2 separate regions of the Homo sapiens genome follow, and region 2 is linked to region 1. Evidence: promoter capture Hi-C in human tissues and cell types (Jung and others, 2019). All regions are on one chromosome and are shown on one strand. Each heading gives the region's core, a stretch centred on a gene start or on the middle of the fragment in contact. The rest is flanking DNA. Distances are from core to core; before and after follow the strand shown.

Evidence for each region. Contacts are between HindIII fragments. The study calls those that stand out against the background at their distance.
Region 2: a contact is called between a fragment that was not itself captured here and the fragment with the promoter of SLITRK5 in region 1, in 2 of the 25 tissues and cell types used here (heart left ventricle and heart right ventricle).

What each region holds. Positions count from the first base shown.
Region 1 is chr13:87,668,113-87,674,728 of GRCh38, reverse strand. It overlaps SLITRK5 (SLIT and NTRK like family member 5), which reads right to left and starts at 3,358. Exons shown (of 2, transcript NM_001384609.1): 1 at 2,520-3,358. It overlaps LOC124900338 (formin-like protein 5), which reads left to right and starts at 2,362. Exons shown (of 2, transcript XM_047430855.1): 1 at 2,362-3,893. The coding sequence starts at 2,424. The coding sequence ends at 2,948. It overlaps MIR4500HG (MIR4500 host gene), which reads left to right and starts at 3,766. Exons shown (of 6, transcript NR_033829.1): 1 at 3,766-3,893. RefSeq lists enhancers at 1-705, 3,130-3,631. The HindIII fragment of the contact is 26,915 bases long and covers 1-6,616 here.
Region 2 is chr13:87,577,124-87,583,563 of GRCh38, reverse strand. The region is part of intron 1 of MIR4500HG (MIR4500 host gene); the gene reads left to right. Among named protein-coding and RNA genes, the nearest start is that of MIR4500, 38 kb to the left of the region's middle. The HindIII fragment of the contact is 3,134 bases long and covers 1,278-4,411 here.

The DNA of each region.
Region 1 (6,616 bases), core at 2,109-4,608:
GAAAAAAGGAGAGCGCATTTGCTTTGATGGTGGACTTCACTACCACGCTATTAAAGCACATCAGCGTCCTAATTGCATGCACGGTACCACTTAGCAGCGCTTCCCGGAGAGCGCCCTGCGACCACTTCTCATTGATCATGTCAGCGACGCTACCAAACCGCATCTTTAAGCCACTGAAATAGTTCTGCACGATGGATTACAAAGAACTCAGCGAAGGTATCCGCAATCTCCGAATACCTCCCGATGCCTAGAGTTTAAAAAGGACGTTCCTACCGCTTACCGGGAATCAGTACACCAAGGATCAGCACGAAAGCCTCCCTTACCTTGGGCTCCGCGTCTATTTGCAACGGTAATAGCAAGGTTTGCACGGAACTACCACCTCGACAGCATCCCCATCTTTGGAGTTGCTTATTACATTTAATTGTTAACGCTCCCCTCTCTCTTTTTTTTAATCTCAGGGAAAGGACGCCTGGGCTGATTAAGAGGCAAAATAGAAAGGTGGGAGGAAGAACTGTAAGCGACTTAGGTCAGTTGTTTAATATCCGAATTTCATCTCCCACAGGAATCAATATGACCCCCTCCCCCTTTTTTTTCTTGCTCTCTTTTTGTCCCCTTGAAGGCTTCCTTCCACTTCCTACTTCTGATCAACAGCAGCACTCTTAAAGGAAGGACATAAATGGAATGAGCGTGTGTGTGTGTGTGTGTGTGTGTGTGTGTGTGTTTGTGTGTGCGCGCGCGCGCATGCTGCGTTGGTTAATGGGGTGGAGGACATTTGATAGAAATGCTGGACTCTAGGAACCTATGCCTTTTCTCTGGTCAACCTTGCCTTTGCCTCACTACCGAAGTCTAATATCGAATTGCAACTCCAAACTAAAGCCAAGATGTTTCCGAGACAGCGGGTTCAAGCCTGGAGACCTTGCTCCTGATCCCCAAGTCGACTCCAGCCCGCGTTATTAAACGCCCCTGCATTCAAACGCACATGTATCAGTGTGCCTGCGAATCATTCACGTGTGGCCACCCAGACGTGTCGAGATGAATTGGAACCACAGTGCATAAACCTCGCAAGTATCCCCGACCTCCCAACGCAACGGTAAACGTCTCCCGGCTTAAAAGCGGCAAAAACATCCCCACCCCAGTGAAAGCAAAACGTTTACCTTGAAATTTCAGTTCTCCGCTGGATCAAATCCGCACATCCATTCAGCGAGGTTGGGTCCCCTCCCCCTCCCTCCCTGTGCTTCCCCGCCCCCATTCACCTCCCACCCCATCTGAAAGCCCATTGCAAATTCAGTCCAGCCAGTATTAAACTCCAGCGTTTACAACTTTAATTCAGTTCTAGTTAGCAAGGGTCGAAGAGCTTCCTCTCAACCCACTCCCTTCCCCCTCCTCCTTGCTAGCAAAGGAGACCAAAAATTTGAGAAAATAAAGTTGAATGAGCCTGGGGAGGCTGACATTCTGACGGGGAAACGCACCTCCGATGCAAATTCGCGGGTGCGCTGAACATTCTCAGATTCTCAGATTTTTTTTTTTCCTGGAGGGCGGGGGCGGGGGAACTATTCATTTTCTCCCAAAGAATTTAGATACTGGATCACCGCCCTGTACGTCCCTGCAGTAAGCAGCATGGAGCCTCTCGGACTGGAGCCCAGCACCCAGGCCGCACCGGAGGCTCCGGGCACAGCTGCTCAAGCAGCAGCCCAGGCAGAAGCACCCGGAGTTCCAGGACGCGAGGCTCCCCCTCCCCCACCCCGCCCCAAAGAGAAGGAAGGGAAAACGGAGGAAGAAGGGGAGGGAGGAGAGGGAAGGAAAACCACCCCGCCACATAGACACACACACACACACACACACACACACACACACACACACACACACACACACACCTCTTTTGCAAAGTAAACGATAGACTTACCCAGTCTCACATCTCCAAGGCCCAGTCATCATAGCCACCCTTTAAAAACACACACATACACAAAAACCCTCTTTGGGGTATGCACTAGGTTTCTCAAGCCCAGGCAGGGCGAGGAGACTGCGAGCAGCGCAGTCCCAGAGGCTGGAGGAAAGAGGCGCCCGGACGCCTCCAGCCTGGGGCCGCCGCCGCGGTGGCGACCGCGGGTTCCGGGGCTCCCCAAAAGGCTCTCCCCGGTGCTCTCCGCGGTAGTCGGAGCGGGCAGCAGGGTTGGGGGGTGGAGAGCGGGGGGCGTTCTGCAGCGGCGGGATAGGGAGGCGGCGGGAGGGGGCGGCGGAGGTCCGGCTGGAGAGGCGCCTCGCGGTAGGGGCCGGGAGCCGGAGCCGGGCGGGGCGGGGAGGGGGAGCTGCTGGGAGGGGAGGCACGGAGCGGGAGGAGGGGGACGCGGAGAAGACTGCCTGGCCCCGCCGGCCCCGCCAACGTGACGGTCAGCCCCGCCGAGCGCTCGCACCCGCTCACACTCATGATCACTCGCACACTCGCTCCAATACGTGTTAAGGCGCGATCGCGGGGTCCCTGGCAGCCTTCGCTGCACCCTCCCCCCCACAGGGGTACTCACAGTTGCCATCTGCATAGGGGGCAACTTTCTCCGACCCAGCTGTGGCCGCCGCCCCCTCCAGCCTCCTCTGGCTCCTCGCACCCTCCGGCCTGGGTTCGCGCCGGCCGGCCCTCCCCTCCCCCCTCGGCTCTCCTCCTCGCCGTCTTCACCACATTCCCCCCTGGTCAGTGGCGCACGCCGGGGGACGAGCCAGAGGGAGCGGGTCGCGGGGGTGTGCATGCATCTCCCGCCTTCTTCTTGCAGCGCACACTGTACATGGTAGTGAGGGGGCGAGCAAAGGTGGCACCGGCCCCTCGGCTGCTCCAGCGAAGGCGGCGGCTGCAGCTCCTGCGCTGTCCTCCGCCCCCCAGCGCAGCGGCGACCACCGCGCTGGGATCCCGCCGACGCTGTCTCCGCGCCGAGCCCGCCGCCGCCGCGGCCCCTAATTAGTATTTGAGAGGCTCTTGCATCCCTTTGGCAGTTTCATCCTCACGGTGTTTGCAGGGTTTTTTTCTGTATCCCTTCCCCAGATGCGGCGCACAATCGTCATTAGTTGGAACTCTCTATCACCGACATCCTTTGGGGTTTCTGGGGGAAGGGGGGGGCGGGCAGCAACCGCGTCGTTCTATGCCTGTGGCTTGTCCTGGCAGCCCGGTGGCTCTAAAAAAAACTCCGAGAAAGTTGCGTCTTCCTCCCGGGCGCCGAGGAGGTGGCAACGCGGTAAGCAACACCGGGTCTCTGAGACAGCTGCTCCGGAGCGGGTGCAGGGCCCAGTCCAGTGCACTTGTTTATTGTCGCGCCTCTGGTGCGAGCCAAGCTGCAGCAGACATGATGGGCCCGGGGCGAAGCGGGCGCTCGGTGGCCGATAGATGGCAGCCGAGGGCGAAGGCGTCCCTGGGCTAGGGCGGCGCAACCGGGGCCCCCTTGGATGTCACATTCGTAGGAAGAGAGAGAAGTCTTGGACCATGTGTGTAATTCGAGCGTGGGACTGTGCAATTCTCGGATTGGGAAAGGGAGGAGTGGAAATAACCCCGGCAGTGCCAGGCTTGCTGGTGGTCAGGAACAGATGATTCCAGCCCTGTGCTGATCGCCTGCCTTCCTCCTGCCATTCAGAATGCTGCTGTCTCGTGTACTTACTGTTAAGGATCCTGGAAAAGGGAGTGGTTCCTCCTAGCTGCAAACAAGGGCGCTACTTTTCTTTTCTCTTTAATAGAATTACGTTTTATAGGTGTGTCTAGGCAACACAAGGGAATGTGAAAGACTTTCAGAGGGAATGTTTGTGAATACATCTGGTGTGTACTAAAAAGCTGGAAAACCCCTAAGTAAATGCAATATCGATAGAAAGCGAGTTTCTTGAAGAGTCATCTGCTAAACTCCACTAGAGTCATCTCTACAGTAAGTATTCTTGGGTCTTTCCATGAAACCAGACACTTCCATCCCCAAAAAGGGGTCTTTACTTTCATAAGACATGTTTTCAATATTTGTAATATTAGACCTGCCGTTCATCCCGGGTATAAGAGAAAAGTTGATAATAGTAAGTGACCCAGTGCAGGCTGAGTGCACATGTGCCTGTTCCTTTGATAACTATGTAGTTAGTTTCTCCATGTAAATATATTTTACCCACTTTATTTTGCAATTAATTACGTCTTAATTATTATTGATATTGTTTTATTCTTAGTAATATTTGGGATAATACTGTGTTATAATCTGGTTAATCATATGTTTAATATTGATATAGAGTCTGATAATATGTCTATGTTCTGAGATGTATATATATCTCAGGTGATGAACATTGCAGTCTCCTGAGGTACTGCAATCTTTTTTGAACTTTCCCCTGCGTATGTTGTGTGAATATATATATTTTTACTTTATACCATAAAAACTTTATTTGGAAGCAATTTTGTTTAAGTATGGGTTATATTCAAGGGAGAGGAAGGAAAGAAGTAATATGTAATTTCAGACAATAAAAACAAAATCTTGTAATGAACGTTTCATTAAATTTAGAAGCATTTGACCTAGGAATGATAGCCACTAGCTGTAGATACATTGCATCAACAAATATAACTTACACGTCATCCACAAAAGGCTTATTTCTGTATTTTTTATTCAGTCATTAACTTTTAACATTATATAAACATTTCAGAAAATTTATTTTAAGTTTAAAATTACTTTTATATTTTCAAAATGAAATGAAATATTTAAATTTAAAATTATATAGGAATTACAGCCAGAAGCCTTTGGAATATAAATATTGAGTCCTATCAGAAACATAATTTTCAATATCGATTAACTTTGTAGAAGTTCTTAAAGGTCCTAAATTGTCTTAATCGATTATTGATTTTTTCAAAATAGCTGAAATAAAGCTGTTATATTTTATCACTGTTCTAAATCTTTATAATTTCATTCAATAGCAAAGTTTAATTCATGGTTTTGTATTATTTTTATTTTAAATATTTATTGTTCTAATTAAAGGAAATATTATTCAACTAAGAAGTATTAAATATGTTTGGAATTAGTTTAGGTTACAGTTTTGTTAGAAACACTTATGCTAATAATCTAGTTTACCTCTTGTGGTTCAAATAAGTAAATGATGAAAACTTTCTGCCATTAACTCAACATTAAGGATGGTCCCGGAAGCCACCATTACCTTTTGCCACTAGGTGTCTCTATAAGATGCTCTGCAAGAGAATGAAATTTTAGAAAATACTGTGACTTGAACAGTTCAGAACAGAAAAACACAAGAGGGAAAACATCATAGATATAAGGAAAAGCCTCAGTTATTAATCTGTTTCTTTATTTGCATTGAATGTTGACTATTGCTTAGAAAATATATAAGTGAATTACATAAGAGTGATCAAATATGAGCCAAAACTTTTACCCACATGAACAAATGTATCTATGTTTTAGTCTATACTAAGCAACACATGGTCATATGTGTATACATGCTTTCAGACAGCACTCAGATGCATGCACTTAATTACATAGATACATTTGGCCATTGTAAAATTAAATGATTGATCAAATATATCTCCCCAGAATTAAGTCTATTAATATTAAACATTATTTGATGGAGTTGGATGTGAAAGTCACATTTGTCCAAATGTTTGCAAATATTTTTTTTTCATATTAGAATTATCTATTGAGAGGGTATCATCATAAGTGTATATCATGTAGGGAAATATATTTGACATTTATATTGTAAATATAATTGTCATTATCAATTATGGCCATAATTTGATACCTGCAAATTTAAATTTAAATTGAAAACATAAGTAGCATACTTGCCACTTAAAATTGACCATATATTTTTGTAAATTTATATTTATTAGTTTCTAGAATTATTATTTTAGTGCTTTATGAACACAGGAGGGATTCTTATATTAAGTACATTTTTTAAGATAATTCTTATCACATTTGCGTATCACTGTGTGTTATCATTAGAATTTTAAAATGCTTAGTCAAGAATTATGGTGCTTTAAGAAACAACCTAATGAGGATTATAAACAAGGAAATTCTTTATTAATCATTTCATGACTTCATAAGTATTGATCAACATCTAAAGCCAGTAGAGCTTGCAATTTGTTGTTGTTGTTGTTGTTGTTAGCCTAACTGGTGAGTTAAGATTATGGAATTCTAATGCTAAGTTTCTATTCCTCCATAGTAATGGCTAAGAAGTCTGTTCAACTCAATTTAATAAATGACACATTTTTCAAGTCTAAGTTAAAGGGCATATGTCTTTAAAGTTTTTGAAATTGAAATTATATATATATCACATTCATATATATAATTATATATAATATATGTTATATGTATATCACATATCTAAAAGGAGAAAATGAAAGTTTCTCCTGGAGGAAAATAATGAGTCACCATTTATGATTGTGTCTCTATGAAATTGCTAAATTAAATAACTGTACAGCATTTGTCTTTGACATTTTGTCTAATACATTTAAAATTAAAAACAAACATCATGCAGTTATATTTATCAAATTAAAAATGGCCAGCAAATCTAATTTTGCTGAAATTATTTATTCACTTACAGACTTAATTATTCACAGCCTTAGAAATAGACTCTCAGAGGCATTACAAAAGAATATACAAAAAATAGCCAATTTTCT
Region 2 (6,440 bases), core at 1,595-4,094, 91 kb after region 1:
ATACTTTCAAATGTGTTTTATTCTCCTCCATTTTATATCTCAGTGAAGGTGTCCCTCCTAAACTTAGCTATTAAATGAAATAAATAAACTATGAATCATTCCACACTCTCTTTCTCCATTAAGCCATGCTGATTTTCCTCCTCAATGGTTCTTAAATTCAGTCTTTATTTTTCTTTCCCACACTTTTGTTCAGGGCAGATGCTTATCATTGTCTTTCCTGGATTGCTGGCTTAATCTCTTGATTCTTTTTCTTCTCTCATGTCCTGCCAGACTCATACCTGTCCTCTAGCCTGTGGCCAGAGTGCCTCAACTGAACATGCTACTCAATTTCTGAGAAATATTTTTTAAAACCTATCTATCAATGACTCTCCCTTTCTTGATTCAACATTCTTCACAAAGGGGTGACAAGTGTGATTAGATATTGATGTCCTCCCCTCTCAGGGCCACAGCAAGGGTCCCATGGTTGCTGTAGTGCCTCAGCTAAGAAAAGCTTAGTGCTTACCTTAGTGCATTATGCAAGCTTCCTAACTTTCTGAAGATTGCTTGACATGGATAAATGTGGAAAGCATTAAATTAGAACATTAAAAGTCCTTTTAATGACATAGAAATCTTTCTAGACTAGGAAGCGCAGCTAAACTATATAATATCCTTGTGCAAATCTGTAAAAAGGTATCATTTAGCCTCAACAGATGATTTTTAAAAGATGCCACAAGTAGACATCGGTATATTTGATAGTACCTTTTTGGAAAGAAAGAAAGAAAGAAAGAAAGAAAGAGAGAAAGAGAGAAAGAAGAAAGAGAGAAAGAAAGGAAGGAAGGAAGGAAAGAAAGAGAAAGAAAAAGAAAGAGAAAGAAAGAAAAGAAAGGAAAGAAAAAGAAGAAAGGAAAGTAAAAGAAAAAGAGAGGAAGGAAAGGGAAGGGAAGGGAGGAAGAGAGAGAGGAAGAAAGAGAAAGAGAAGAAAGAAAAAAAGAAAAAGAAAGAAACAAAGAAAGAAGAGAGAAAGAGAAAGAAAGAGAAAGAAAAAAAAGAAAGAGAAAGAAAAGAAAAAGAAAAGAGAAAAGGAAAGAGAATTACATATTACTTCTCTGGGCCAGATTCAGCCCTCTGTTAAGTTCCAGGAATTGGGCCAGTTTTACAAACTGCATAACCATGAGCAGAGGCCAAACTCCCATTACCTGATCTCTTGGTGTATCGCCTTTCTTTGAGGTATTCATCATGCTGTTTTAAAATTATGTCTTTTCTCTTTTTGTCATCACTGATTTAGAAAAACCTTACTCTGTTTCCTTACCTATCCACACTTTCTATTCGTGTTACTTTTTCCTCCAGCCCAATCTTGCTTCCATCAAATTTAATGTGTAATACTATCATAGCCATTATCATGCTATTTTCTGTATATAGTGTTTGTGTTTTCCAAGGGGTGAAAACACTGTAAAGTTACACTACTTCTCAATCCAGCAAATTTACTGTTAGTTATCTACCTAAGATAAATGAAAACATATATCCACACACACTGGCCCTACAGTGGAAACAATCTAATCATGTGTCACCTGGTGAATGAATTCACAAAATTAGAGAACTCTTATGTATGAAGCTATGTACCTGATTTTCTTACCTAAGTTATTTGAAAGCACAAACACACTTTTTTGTGTATATTTTAGTTGCGTGCCATGCCTGGCTCAGAGCTTTGCCTGAAAAAGGCCCTTGATAAATGGTGGATGAATGAATAAATGCATTAAAAAAAACCATCTATCCATATGATAGAATACCACTTAGCTATAAAAAAGAACAAACTGTAGATACATACTACTATGTGGATGAACCTCATAGTTTTATACACACTGAAAGAAGCCAGGTACCAGAAACCACATACTGTAAGATTCCATTTATACAAAATGTCCAGAAAAGACAAATCTTTAGAGATAGACTGGTGAATGACTTGAACTGTGGAGAGGGACAGCGACAGTTAATGTGCATATAGTATCTCAGTGAAGTGATGAAACATTCAAAAACTGATTTATGGCAATGGTTTCAAAGCTTGGTAAATTTACTAAAATATCATTGAATTCTACACTTGAAATGGATGAATTATATGATATGTAAAAGATGCCTCAGTTAAGTTACTTTTTGAAACTTAGATTACTTGTCTTTTCCTTATTGAGGTTTGAACCAGCAGCCCAAGATCTGGCCTATGGACGTTTTGATGCTCATATCTCTACCATTCTGTACTCAACATTTTCCCCTATTTTAACAAAAGCATTAGTTATTACTCATTTGTTTATAATAAGAATATAGAGGCCTTATTTCCAATTTGATAGATATTTTGGTTACTATTAAAAAGTCAGACATGATTGTAATATAGTTGCATAAATACAGTATTTTTTTTAACTAGTCACAATTCATTTCATGTTTTCCCGTTGTTGAAAAAAAGTTTTTTTGGGGCAATCCCTAAAATAAAAGATTCTGTAATAAAATGAAGTTTGCAAAATTGCATGATACGGTCCTTTCTTGAAAGATTCATAACAGGGACTAGGGTATATTTTTAGGAATCTTGAGTCTGAAGCTTTAAATTTCTTTCTTGTTTGACTGTTGCTATGATAATGCTACATTTTTAAGAGTCAAAATTATAGTAGTGCAAAATAATATACATGAATTTTTCAAGCACAGATCTGAAGACCCATTAGATGTGGATATAGTTGCTTTTTATACATCATTCATTCCTGGACCTGAGTGAAGGGACAGATCAACCTGGGGCAGGATCTCTTCCTGGTGAATAAAAGGAGACAAGAGACCATAATACACCACACATATGAAACTTTTGCTTGGATGTGGCATATATTATGTTCATGAATGAGAGCCGTAAATCAAAGATATGAGGAACTATATCTTACCCAGAGTGACGTCACAGCAAGGGAGGGAATGAAAGAAAGATATGTGGCTTTCTATTTGGAGTTTGCTTACTTTTAAATGGATCTCACTACCCTCTTTTTCACAATAAATTTTTGAATCCTAGATTCATGGATTATATTTTGAGAAACAATGATAATGTGAAATTGTAATTCTTATCTCTGAATGCGTATTAAAATCACATGTAGTGTTTTTAAAAATATTGATATCCACATTCCACCTACACCGATTGAAACAATCTTAAGGGAGTGGAATTCAGGCATTGGTATTTTAAAATTCCCTTCGTTTAATCTATGAATATATATGAAAAGGTTGAGAACTACTACTGTGGGGAAATGGAATGTGGCAGAATATTTTTCATATTCTTCATTTGAACGTTTCTAACTAGAATTCAATGTTTTTATATTCCCTAAGCTTAAGTTCATTTTACTTCAGGCATATCTGAATTTTAGTCTGTTAGTTACATACAGAGTAGTCATTACTGAAGTTTGATATGGAGCTTTATTTTAGCCTTATTGGGATTATATATTCCATTCTCCTTGGAGTGAGTCTGTAGAGAAGAACAGATTATAAATCGCTTTGTATAGCTTTCAGTGCCTTATATTTCTCTGGTATATTTCTACATGGAGGAGAGAATATATTTTAGGCCATAGATACACTATGATTAGGTATGTCTTCCAGGAGAAATAGGAAGCACAATATGGTTTCAATGATCTATATTTGCATAATTTAAAAAATGTATAGCCAAGGAATTACACCATTATTTCAGAAGTTCCAGAAGATGTTAAATTTTTGTAGCCCCAAACACTTCAATCACCCTATGGGAAACTCCTATTTTTTACAGTAAATTAAGCATCTATTTTTTGGCTTGAATATTTTATATATATTGCTTTTTAAATTAGCTTTCTAGCATTTTGACTATAAAACATTATTTAATAACCTACATTTAATAAGTCAGAAACATTCTGCTTATTTTTGTCACCTTTTTCACACTTATGATTTGAATCTTGGAGAATAATATGTAACATGGTGATTCAGAGTATAGGATAATAAGGAAATGAGAAGCCTAAATCATGTTAAAGCATATAAAGCAATACAAAGGGAAGAATCAATACAAAAGAAAAGCATAGTACATAAAGCAGGATGAAGTAATCGATAGCAGTGTATTGTAGCATACAATCGCAGATGATTACAGGTAAACCCACTTGAGTTATGTAGCGATGCTAAAGAGCTACAACAAATTTCCACTGCATGTTGGCATCAGACAAAGGATTAAGGGAATTCTGAACAACATTAGAAAAGTTTAACTATTACCAAAGAATATCAAAGCTCTAAAACTTTCTGAACATTTTTAAAAATAATATTTGAAAATAGTTTTGCTTTCAGGCCACCAAAGAAGGAAAACAAAGTGTCTGGGTTCTAAGATCTAATAGGATTCTAAGATCTATTAAGATCTAAGATCCATGTTAGGATCCTAGGATCCTAATATCTAACTTTACCCTGTGGTAGCCTAATTTTATTTTACCACAGGATGAAATTCGATATTACTAATTAGTTATTACTTATTTTCTAAGGAATTAATATGAATTATTCCAGTTTCTTACTACTACACTAAAAAAAATCACAAGAAAATTGGGGGACTAAAACAACAGTAACTGTTTAACTCTTCTTCCCCGTGTTCCTAGGGGCTGGCTGTTCTCAGTTCAGTGGTTCTCACTCAGTCTTGCTTGTGGTTCCAGGGAAATGGTGTCTGCACCTGGAATGATTTCAAAGGTTTTTTCTCTCACATGTCTCCATGTGACTTGGGCTTCTTCACATCATGACAGTTGAATTTCAGTAACAAGCATCCTAAGGGGACCAAGCAGAAGCCAGAAGGTTTATTCCTATTTAGGACCTAATTTTGGAAATCATAGCATGTCACTTCCTTTCTATTCCAGACATTCAAGAGGATACACAGAGCCCATTCTTTCAATGAGAGGAGTGTAAGCATCATATAAAAACATGGAAGATGGAAGATCTTTTGGCCATTGTCTTGGAAGTGTAATCTGACACATGGATCTTAAATTTCCTTTTATATTTTCCCTTGGTGTGGACACTAAAATATTTACCTAGGCTTATATAATGCATACATCACAATTTTCCCAAAGAAGAATTTTAATACGGGAGTTTTGGATACACACAGGATGTGAACTGCAGACATTTTCCTAAGAGTTTACCTAGTTGTTCAAGGTATGAGAAGGGCAGCTGCCTTTGTATGAGATCCCAACACATATCACTCTTTCTTTCTCTTACCCGTTAAAATGCAGCCTTAGTCTTTTAGTTCCACTGAAATTTTAAGCCGCTTATCACCTCATGGTTTCTGCTTATATTTGTTAATTTATCGACTGGATCTTTGCATAATGTCTTAATCAGCTTGGGCTGCCATAATAAAATACAATAGGCTGGGTGACTTGAATGACAAAAATTTATTTCTCATAGTTGTGGAGGCTGAAATTCTCAGATCAAGGTGCCAGCAAGGTTGGATTCTATTGAGAGTTCTTCTAGCTTGCAGACGGTCACCTTCTAGATATGTACTCACACAGAGAAGAGTGAAAGCAAGCTTATAAGCAAGTAGTGTCTCATAAGGACACTGCTCTCATCAGGAGGACCATCACTCTTTTGATCTCATCTAAACATAATCAGTTTCCAAAGTTTCCATCTTCAAACACCTTCACATGAGCAATTAAGGCTTCAGCATGTGAATTTAGAGGGATGGGACAATTCAGTCCATAGCACATGAGTAATTCCTCATATATTTTCTCTCAGCTCATATATCAAGCCTTCCCTGGCCATCCTGTTCACAATAGTTCTATTCTTCCCGAGGCATTATCATATTACCTATTTCCTTCGGTGCATTTACACTTTTCCCTCCCTTCTTTATATTAGATTCAAGTCCCAGTGAAAGCAGCTTTTTGTGTTCATGCTGGAACAGCGCTTGCTGCAGAGAAGGCTTCAGAAAATGGTCCATGGATGAGTGAATGAATCGATGGCTCACCAGAATAATTCATATATGAGTGCTTTGGCAGCTGTAATTTTGGGGGAGAGGTTATCTTTCTTAAATGGTCATAAATCAAACCAACTTCAGCTTTCACGCATTCATTCCTATTCTGTTATTCTGAGGCCACAAGGAAAGTCATTAATTCTTTGACATAATAGACTGCACTTCAAAAATTTATAAACAGCTATTCTGTCCCATTTATATTTTCAATTTAAAGGTTGTGTGTGCTTACAAACACATTTAATATGACAGGTTTCTAATCCTCTTGTCATCACTGACACTTACCTCAGGAAGTTTTCAGTTTTCAAATGACCCTTTGAAAGTGTGTGGTCCCAGTAGAATATAACACTCTAGGTAATGCCTCACTAAGCTGAGGATATAATAGGACATCACTTCCCTGGTTAGGGGCTGTTTTTTTATTAATGCAGAATAAAATATTTTGCCTTTTCTGAGGAAACATGATTCACAAACAATCTAATGGATATTTCCATTTTTAATT